Regions from separate parts of the Homo sapiens genome. Here region 1 is linked to region 2. Evidence: promoter capture Hi-C in human tissues and cell types (Jung and others, 2019). All regions are on one chromosome and are shown on one strand. The core of a region is centred on a gene start or on the middle of the fragment in contact, and the rest is flanking DNA. Distances in the headings are between cores, read along the strand shown.

Region 1 (5,639 bases), core at 107-2,606, 79 kb before region 2:
CATCTGGGGAAGAGAAGGGAAGAGAAGGGCAAAGAATGAGTTTCTAAGATACTAACAATGTTCTATCATTTCATAGTGTGTGTGTGTGTGTGTGTGTGTGTCTGCCTGTGTGTGAACTTGAGCATTTGCTTTACAACTGTTATTTTAACAAGTAAAAATCACTTAAAAGTAAGTGTGAATGAGGTCCAGAAAGTCAGCAAACCCAACCAGAGGGTACAGTATGTTGTGGAGTAGCAGGCATTAAAACAAATAAGGTGATCCTCAATCCATTTCTTTTTTAGCGCTGAGCAGCATCCAATTGGTTGCTCCCTCCATCACCCCCACTAAGCTTAAGAATCTCACCTTCCTCAAAATCCAGAGATAAGTAATGAAAGTCATCAAACAGAGTCAAGGGGTCACCACGGAGGGTATTGAATCCTCCGAGAGGAATGTTACCTCTGACACCTAGCTAGCCGGGCGGGGGTGTCCGGTGCAGGGTAAGAGTGAGGCGTTGATAGCCGGAGGTTGTCTATCGATATTAAGGGCTTCCCCCTTACAATTGAGGCCCTTATTTCAGTTGACAAATGACACCTCACTGAAAAGGACGATGGAATTCATTTCGCTATCGAGGCTATGGCTGAAGTAGAGTCTGATCAGTCCTCAGTGGGGAAATGGAAGAAGAGATTGAGTGAGGATAAAACAAAGGAATGTACTTTTACTATGAAGATCAGAACGAGACCACAGGCTGATATATGTGCAAATTTAGACACTTGGAGTTTATCTCCTGTGTCCAAAAATCTGCCCCAGACATTCCATTTCTCATTGCTGTCTTTCTTTTAAACTTGTTGTCAAGGAAATAAGATGCAAGCTGAGCAGGTGGGAACTAGAAGCAAAAAGTTTAATATTGTATGTGAATGCTTTTACAATCTAATGAGCAATAAAAAGATTCATTCTGAGCTCTTTATTATGTTTTAATGGCCAACCATGTAAAAGCTGGATATTTGAAAGTATTTTTGTGTTATTTGGGTTCAATTAAAACCTGTCTCTCTCTCTCTCTAATAATTATTCTGGGAACAAGGTAAATGTCCAAGATTAAATAAAAGGAACATCAGAATACCATAGCAGATAAGTCTTGCCTTGTTGTGATACTTATTTTGTTGTTGTTGTTGTTGTAGTATGTAAAGTGCTAGATACTTTACATAACCCCTCAACCATCTTTCAAAATTGTTAGTTTTTAGATAAGAAAGCGGAGGCTTTGTGAGGTTAAATAACTTGACCAAGAACACATAGTGAAGCTAGGAGGCCAACTCAGTTCTGTCTGAACTAAAAGCAAAAATGAGAGGTAATAGCTACTTTCTTAAGAAAAGAAAGGAGAGGACTTTACAGGGAGCTTTATCCAAGCTGGTCAGAGAGGTGGAAGGCCAGATCCCAGAGGGATTGCTATATTTAGGGAAAGTCTTTCTTAACTAGTGAAAGACTGGAAGGTGAGGCTGTTTACTGGGAAGAACAAAGGTATGACAGCTTCCTAAGGGAAAAAGAGATACAACCCTTGAAAGAACTGGAAGAAAGTGGTAGTGGATCCCCAGACTGGAAAGACTCAACACAGTGTATTTGGTTATAGTCATCTGAGGCATTGATTATGGTCCCATTTTTGCCACTAAATTGTTATTGAACTTTGTGCAATCATTTCACCAACTTGACAAATGTAAACTGCAATATATCATAATGTACTGAAGTTGAAGAAGTTAGTGAGGATACCTAGATCTGTATCAGCCTGGCACATGGAAGGAGTAAAGAAATCACATCAAGCTAAATATTAAATGTTTATAAATCTTAATTTATTTCTTTTTATCAGGTAAAAATAAACATAAAAAGAAGTGCTAACATTTTCTTCCTGCACTTCATTGAATTGTTTTACCACCCCATGGCTTTCAGGTACATGGGCTGAATGAAATATAGGATAAGGCTTAGAGAATGGCACTTCCAACTGGAGGCCTCTACATTGACAAAAGATCAGCCAGGTCAATTATGTTGAGAAAAGTATTTGACTTTAGAAACACTATGAGGGGGGTGGTTAGGAGACAGAGATGCCACAAGGGTTCTGAACTATAGCTCTTCTGCAAAAATGCCCTGTAATTTTGAAATGTAGAGACCATTGTTTTGGCCAGGCATGGTGGCTGACACCTGTAATCTGGGCACTTTGGAAGGCTGAGGTGGGAGGATTACTTGAGCCCAGGAATTTGAGACCAACCTGGGCAATATAGTGAGACCCTGGCACTACAAAAAAAAAATTACCCGGATTTGGTGGTTCACACCTGGTCCCACCTACTTGGGAGGCTGAGGTGAGAGGATCGCTTCAGCCTTGGAGGCTGAGGCTTCAGTGAGCTGTGACAGCGCCACTGCACTCCAGCCTGGGCAACACAGTGAGACCTGTCTCTAAAAATATATATATATATATATGTATATATATATATATATATATATAGAGAGAGAGAGAGAGAGAGAGAGAGAGACAGAGAGAACCTATGATGGACATTACCAAGTCAAATTCCTAAAGTGACCTCAATGAGTAAAATGGGTTGAATGAAAATGGCCACCCAGTCCTCTTGTTTTCTCATTTTGATAGGAAGTGTTTCTACTATAAGTCACAGCATGCATGCATGAAAACATGTGGCTTGTAACACTGCGTCTCAGTGCAGGACAAGAGTTGAGAGTGATGTGGATGATGTGAACTAGAAAACGGGTCAGCAGCTACTCATGTCTTGTTGATGGTTGTAATCCAGTTGTAATCCACTGGATGTTGATCCAGTCTTGCTAAATTTCTTATTTTTCCAAAGAGGCCAGAAATCCAACTATTAGGTAAAAATATCTTGATTAAAAAAAAGACTACCTTGGAACTAGGTTTTTGTAAAACATTGTAGGAACCACACAAAGCAGGCCGACAGCCTGATCTTCTCTGTAGTCAACTGGTTTGCAGCCCCTGACTTACTCCAATGCCAGAAACCTGGGCTTGCAAGTGGTTTTCATTTTATCCTCCAGGGGACTGACTAGCTGTGACTTCCTCAGGGAAGCCTTCCCTGGCCAGATTGGCTACCCCATTGGTATTTTCTCTAGTCTTCTGTATATCCCCATCCTTCCTTTCTACACACTTTTTTTGTAATTACATGTTTGATGCTTTTTGTTCCTGCTAGACTGTAAGTTAATTGAAGGAGGAAACTATTTCTGTGTTGGTCATTGTCATTAGGTTTCCTGGAATCAGACTGTAGTGGACTGGGAGTTGTGTGAAGGAGGTTTAGTGGGCAGTGCTCTTGGGAACACTAGGTGGGTGAGGGAACAGGATTGGGCTGGCAGAGAAATGGGGTGAACAATTTTTTAGAGATACAACCTGGGACACAGCCATAAATAATATAGAATAAAGAATTTGTGTGTTATGACTTCAACATAAAAGTATTTAAAATGGGCATATCCTTGAAATTGTATTAAATTCTGTATTATTTACTTTTCTGTTATATAAATACTATCATCTAAGCCAAAACAACATAAATAATTAACAATGGCAATTAGTAGTAATTAATAGTAGGACTAATTTAAAAAATCATGTGTGAGGAAGATTTAACAATATTTTGATAATATTTCTTTATCTGGAAAAATGATTTATTTTAACTCTTGTCATCTCTTTATTTGATAGTGATTGATTTCAGGCTATATTGGTGTGTACTTTATGATCCATAATTAAACAGATATTACCTGTATTTAATAAAAAAACAGTAATAAGATGTTTCTTTCTGTATCGCGATACAGGAGGATATTTTTTCCTCTTTCAATTACCTTTTTCAATAATACTCAGAACTGCCTACAACCTTTACTTTGGGGCAAGCTTTTATTCTTTTTTCTTTTTATTTTTTAATTGGTGGACTGTTTATTTAGGTCTTTAATTTTATATATATATATTTTTTATTATACTTTAAGTTCTAGGGTACATGTGCACAATGTGCAGGTTTTTACATATGTATACATGTACCATGTTGGTGTGCTGCACCCATTAACTCGTCATTTACATTAGGTATATCTCCTAATGCTATCCCTCCCCCCTCCCCCTACCCAACAATAGGCCCCAGTGTGTGATGTTCCCCTTCCTGTGTCCATGTGTTCTCATTGTTCAATTCCCACCTATGAGTGAGAACATGCGGTGTTTGGTTTTTTGTCCTTGTGATAGTTTGCTGAGAACGATGGTTTCCGGCTTCATCCATGTCCCTACAAAGGACATGAACTCATCATTTTTTATAGCTGCATAGTATTCCATGGTGTATATGTGCCACATTTTCTTAATCCAGTCTATCATTGTTGGACATTTGGGTTGGTTCCAAGTCTTTGCTATTGTGAATAGTGCCGCAATAAACATACATGTGCTTGTGTCTTTATAACAGCATGATTTATAATCCTTTGGGTATATACCCAGTAATGGGATGGCTGGTTCAAATGGTATTTTCAGTTCTAGATCCCTGAGGAATCGCCACACAGACTTCCACAATGGTTGAACTAGTTTACAATCCCACCAACAGTGTATAAGTGTTCCTATTTCTCCACATCCTCTCCAGCACCTGTTGTTTCCTGACTTTTTAATGATCGCCATTCTAACTGGTGTGAGATGGTATCTCATTGTGGTTTTGATTTGCATTTCTCTGATGGCCAGTGATGATGAGTATTTTTTCATGTGTCTATTGGCTGCATAAATGTCTTCTTTTGAGAAGTGTCTGTTCATATCCTTTGCCCACTTGTTGATGGGGTTGTTTTTTTCTTATAAATTTGTTTGAGTTCTTTGTAGATTCTGGATATTAGCTCTTTGTCATATGAGTAGATTGCAAAAATTTTCTCCCATTCTGTAGGTTGCCTATTCACTCTGATGGTAGTTTCTTTTACCGTGCAGAAGCTCTTTCATTTAATTAGTCGTTTGAAAAGATCAAAAAAATTGATAGACCGCTAGCAAGATTAATAAAGAAGAAAGGAGAGAAGAATTGAATAGATGCAATAAAAAATGATAAAGGGGATATCACCACCCATCCCACAGAAATACAAACTACCATCAGAGAATACTATAAACACCTCTACGCAAATAAACTAGAACATCTAGAAGAAATGGATAAATTCCTTGACATATACACCCTCCCAAGACTAAACTAGGAAGAAGTTGAATCTCTGAATAGACCAATAACAAGCTCTGAAATTGAGGCAATAATTAATAGCTTACCAACCAAAAAAATGACCAGATGGATTCACAGCCAAATTCTACCAGAGGTACAAGAAGGAGCTGGTACCATTCCTTCTGAAACTATTCCAATCAATAGAAAAAGAGGGAATCCTTGTACCTCATTTTATGAGGCCAGCATCATCCTGATACCAAAGCCTGGCAGAGACACAACAAAAAAAGAGAATTTTAGACCAATATCCCTGATGAACATCAATGCAAAAATCCTCAATAAAATACTGGCAAACCGAATCTAGCAGCACATCAAAAAGCTTATCCACCATGATCAAGTGGGCTTCATCCCTGGGATGCAAGGCTGGTCCAACATATGCAAATCAATAAATGTAATCCAGCATATAAACAGAACCAAAGACACAAACCACATCATTATCCCAATAGATTCAGAAAAGGCCTT
Region 2 (5,498 bases), core at 2,966-5,465:
TTTCTAAATATAGGATCATGTCATCTGGAAAGAGAGACAATTTGACTTCCTCTCTTCCTATTTGAATACCCTTTATTTATTGCCTGATTGCCCTGGCCAGAATTTCCAATACTATGTTGAATAGGAGTGGTGAGAGAGGGCATCCTTGTCTTGTGCTGGTTTTCAAAGGCAATGCTTCCAGCTTTTGCCCATTCAGTATGGTATTGGTTGTGGGTTTGTCATAAATAGCGAGGAAGAGCTTTTTCAAGTATGACACAGAGAAGCTATAAAAGATAAGACTGGCAAACTGCACTATGTAAAAGTATTTAAAATTTTTTTACATATTAATATACATCAAAAACAAAGTCAAAAGGTAAATAAGAAACTTGGAAAAATATGCAACTCAAATCACAAAAGACATTATATCAATACATGCAAATTCTACAAACAAAAACAAATGACCAAGAACACAATAGAAAAATAGGCAAATTATATCTTCAGAGAGTTCATGGAAAAGAAAATACAAATGGATGGAGCATACTAAAGACACACAAAATTTCATTTAAAAGAAAATAAATACAAATTAACACTTTACTGAGATACGACTTTTTGCCTACAAGTGTCAAAAGTCAAAAAGTGTTGGTCAGCATCTAGAGATAGGCATTTTCACACGGTGTAATATGAAAGAACCTTTGTGAAAGGCAATTTGCAGAACACACACACATATATCCAACTGTTTGATTCAACTTTTCTACTTTTAAGAATTTATAATGGAAAGGTAAAATGACACATGAAAAAGTTAATTGAAGCATTGCTTAAGATACAAAAAGTATGAAAACAATCTAAATGTATATTGATAGGGAGGCTGGCTAAATACAGCCATACGATGAAATAATATGTGACTATATAAAAAGAACAGGACAGTTCTCTATGAACTGATGCCATGGTGGCTCACGCCTGTAATCTCAGCACTTTGGGAGGCCGAGGCAGGCGGATCACGAAGTCCGGAGATCAAGACCATCCTGGCTAAAACGGTGAAACCCTGTCTCTGCTAAAAATACAAAAAGTAGCTGGGTGTGGTCGCATGTGCCTGTAATCCCAGCTATTCGTGAGGCTGAGGCAGGAGAATCGCTTGAACCAGGGAGTCGGAGGTTCCAGTGAGCCCGGATCGTACCACTGCACTCCAGCCTGGCGACAGAACAAGACTCCATCTCAAAAAAAAAAAAAAAAAACAACCCCTCAAGGTACAGATTAGTGAATACAGTATTCTACTAATTGCATAAAAGAGAGGAAGAATATATTATAAAACAGAGAAGGAAGAATGTATTATATATATGTATACGCACATATTATATGTATGCCTATATATGTGCATGTACATATATATAATACATTCTTCCTTCTTTCCTTGCTTGATAAGCAAAAAGATTATCAAGTTACTTGTTTGATAAGCACCAAACATCTTCTGAAGTATACCAAAAACCGTGAACACTTGTAAAAGAATAACTGATTGACTCTAAGGAGAACTGGATGCCTGAGAGAAGGAGGTAGGAGAGACTTTGCCCTGTTATGGTGTTTTGTAAGGATTGAATTTTGAGCTGTATGAACGAATTACAAGTCAAAAAATAAAATACAGAAGTTATCTCCTCTCTATAACATCATCCCCCACTTCTGCCCTCAGTTAACTTTCCCTATCACCAATGAGTGGTATAGAGTCAACCTCCTCAGTATATCAGTATACTTCTCTGTAAACAGAACCCAGGCACAAGTCTATTTACAAAGCCAGTTTAATGAAACCACTATATAAACTCAGTTTGAAGAAAAAGTCCATTGAGTCTCCAAGATGGAGAAACTGTGAGCTGTGAGCCTCAACAACACCACATTCTGAGTTTAGAAATGAAAGGAAGCAGAGATATGGGATTAAAGTTAATGATAGTCTAGGATCCATTAGGGTTGTATTTTTTAGTAGCAAGAACATTCCTGGGATTTTGAAGTCAGGAAAAATATTCAGTGAATGTAAAAAAAAAAAATTCTGCATTATCAACAAATTAGCCCCAAAGTGATTAAGTGTGAGACTCCAAGTACCCCAAGAACTAAGTCTGACAGAGTTTTAAGGTTCACTGGTGTCTTTTAAGAGGCAGAGATAGACCAGGAGGGAGCAAAAGAAGGAATTAAGAATTTTCCTTTCTTCCAGAGCCTATTCTTTTCTTACTAAACACATTAACCAATTTTCTACAGAAGTGGTACTGTCAAAATTCTTCCTCATGAACTGAATCTGGGGGTTCACTAAACTGAAAAGCATCTCTGGCTAAAAATGCACCAACTGTACAACACAAAAGATTAAAATTAAAATTATGGAAAGTTGTCTTTGAAGGGATAAGGGTGAAGTGGTCTGTAAATTTAACTAAGGAAGGCAGTGGCTAACCCTCTTCTTTCTACACAAAGAACCCATCACTGATGAGTTTGCCCTTACACTGGTTAGATACCATAGCAAACTTCCTAGTACAAATAGAAAATTGATTGTAAACCAGAACATGTAGAAGTGAAAGAGACCTTGGACAGACTTCCTAAAAATACTGCCAAGGAAACTGAGACCAAGAAAATTGCCCAAAGTGACGCAGGTGATTAATGGTAGCGCTACCTCTGCTTGGTCTTGTGTTTACTTTTGCCTTTAAATATTTTAAAAGACACTGATGACCACTGATCTTGAATGGATCTCAAAGCTTTGCAAGGAGGCAGGGGGGCTTACTTAGGGAAGACTTCCTTTCTCCCATAGATTTAACTCCTTTATAAGTATAATTCATTTGTTGTGTGCATATATGACTATATTTGGAAAGAAGTAGTATTTATGGTGCTGAAGAGATATTCAGCATCATATCAAGATGATCAAGAAATATCAAGTTATGCCAAACACTGGGGCCACTCCCTACACTGAAATGTTTCCAAATTCTGTGATAAAAATCAAAGGCTCAAAAGTCAAGAAACAGATCCACTGTTTCTGCAATGTGTTTTGTGAACTCTATTTGTGCCCTGTGGGCCAGTCTCAGTGATGGATTTTCTTATCTATGAAATGGGACCAATGACCTCAACTCAGATTTACTTGGGTGTTCTCAGGCATGCATCAAAGGCATACTGCTGAAATTCTTAGCACATAAATACCACTATGTAATAGTGAGTCTGTAAAATAGTTATGAATAGGCAATAATGGAATAGTTAATAAATATGAGTATTGCAATATTCTTTTTATATGATTGTCTTTTAAGTCATCAAATTTCTGAACATCTTCTGAAACTGAAGGAATAGAAAAGGGAATTTAAATAGTATAAAATGCTATCATAATAATATGGTAACTGCGGGCATATCTATAGACATTCATACTGCCACGGTTAGTGGCATAAATTCTTATCTTTTGCTTAAGGAATAAATACATTTTTTCCTACAGTAGTGAATGCAGGACAGATTTCACCAGAATGAAATTGGATGGCATCAAGTCTATTTAATGTAACACTTTGTTAAACAGAATATTTTCCCCAAACCCAAAGCACCTAAAAGTTTAATTCAGGAGACTTTGGAAATGAGAGGAGGATTAAGAATGAAAAATACTTTAGTGGGAAGTGAACTTTTTAAAATTATTTTTAAAGAATCAAGGCCCCAACTTCTTCAGCACTTCAGGCAACGGATCACAGGTTTTTGTTTTATTGGAGAAGAAACAAAGTAAATAACAGTTCTGAGGATGAACAAAAGCTGTTGGGAATACCCATTTCACTCCTCAAAGTGGGGGCGCGTTTTATGAATAATTTCAGCCGGCTAACATACCTTCCTGCAAAACACAGACAAGATGTAAATTAAAAAGTGGCAGAGTTGTGGCATATTGCAAAAGTTTAAAGGGAGTCATCAGTCCTTCAGTCAGATCTCCCTGCAGAAAGGTTGGCGCTGAGGTTGGAACTGACCCTAGAGGGCTGGAGAGGACCCCTTGGGGGTGAGCAGCCGGGTTCTGGGACCCAGCAAGGTCAGGGGGCGTCTCCCCAGCTACTCTTTATCTATCCCCCGCACTCTGGAAAGCCCGAAGAGGATTCGCTCCAAGTTAGGCGCGCTGTTGGCTGTCAACGTTCTTTAGGACCTCAGGGAAACCGGGACGTTTCTGGCTTTAGGACCCAGGAACTCCGAGGCAGCCTAGACTTAGATGCCTTGGACCACAGCACCACCTACTTATAGAAGCATCCCAAGCCTCAGCCGGTCTGCATCTCCATCGGAAAGTGCGCTTGCCACATCCCTTCGGATCACTTCGTCCTCCCGAGAGCGTTCTGCCTTCTACAGCTCGGAAAGAAAGAAATCTTAGCTGTGAAGTGACCGTGGAGAAAGCGCAGGAAGCGACACAATTGGTTAGGGAGGCAGAGAGTGTGAGCGGGCGCACCCCTTGCCTGGGGACCGCGCTCGCGGGCGGGGACGGAGCATCCCAGTGGCTGCACCCGCCGCTCCGCGCTCCTGCCTGGCGTCGCCAACCCCGCGGCGGCCGCTGGAATTCCAGAGCTGCCAGGCGCTCCCAGCCGGTCTCGGCAAACTTTTCCCCAGCCCACGTGCTAACCAAGCGGCTCGCTTCCCGAGCCCGGGATGGAGCACCGCGCCTAGGGAGGCCGCGCCGCCCGAGACGTGCGCACGGTAGGCAACCCACACCAAGGCAGCCGCAGCTGCGGCGCTTGGGTACACCGCCGTGGACTCCAAATGGCCTAAGAGCGTTCTTTTAGCCCTGCGCTCTCAGTGCCTTTAGAGTTCTTTCCTTTCCCCGGAGCGCCGGCACAACGCATTATGCCGCTGGGTCGGAGCTTAGGGCTCGGCAGAGGTTGCTAATTCACTGATTATAATCACCTTCCTCTCCAACTCGTCCGCAGCTGCCCGCTCTGGATTAAGCCGCTCCGCGGCTCGTGCTAGGCAGTGGGTTCGCTTCCTCCTTCCCTCTCTTCTTTAAATTGGGACGTGCGAAGGCGCAGCTGCCTCCCCGGGGCTCTCTCCATCCCCCACACACCCTGTTTTCGCTTCTTGTCTCTCAGGTTCGTGGCGGAGAGATGCTGATCGCGCTGAACTGACCGGTGCGGCCCGGGGGTGAGTGGCGAGTCTCCCTCTGAGTCCTCCCCAGCAGCGCGGCCGGCGCCGGCTCTTTGGGCGAACCCTCCAGTTCCTAGACTTTGAGAGGCGTCTCTCCCCCGCCCGACCGCCCAGATGCAGTTTCGCCTTTTCTCCTTTGCCCTCATCATTCTGAACTGCATGGATTACAGCCACTGCCAAGGCAACCGATGGAGACGCAGTAAGCGAGGTGGGTCCCTCTCTGCCAAAGGTGCGTGGTGGGCTTCAGGGGTGGCGTGTGGAGGCGCTCACTCACGCCCTGGCTCCGGGGGCTCAGATGGTCAGGGCTGTGCTCTCCACCCCAGCTTTTGCGGGTCCCCAGTCCCCACCTTTAGGACCCTGGAGCTCTACAAAACACTCTGTTTTCTGTACCCTGGAGGCGCGGGGAGCCGGAGCGA

The links. Contacts are between HindIII fragments. The study calls those that stand out against the background at their distance.
Region 1: a fragment that was not itself captured here is called in contact with the fragment with the promoter of RSPO2 in region 2 in 2 of the 25 tissues and cell types used here (IMR-90 fibroblasts and pancreas).

What each region holds. Positions count from the first base shown.
Region 1 is chr8:108,158,251-108,163,889 of GRCh38, reverse strand. No RefSeq gene overlaps it. Among named protein-coding and RNA genes, the nearest start is that of RSPO2, 77 kb to the right of the region's middle. The HindIII fragment of the contact is 6,641 bases long and covers 1-4,676 here.
Region 2 is chr8:108,082,337-108,087,834 of GRCh38, reverse strand. It overlaps RSPO2 (R-spondin 2), which reads left to right and starts at 4,215. Exons shown (of 6, transcript NM_178565.5): 1 at 4,215-4,638; 2 at 5,028-5,290. The coding sequence starts at 5,197. RefSeq lists a silencer at 5,184-5,359 and an enhancer at 5,076-5,498. The HindIII fragment of the contact is 6,606 bases long and covers 892-5,498 here.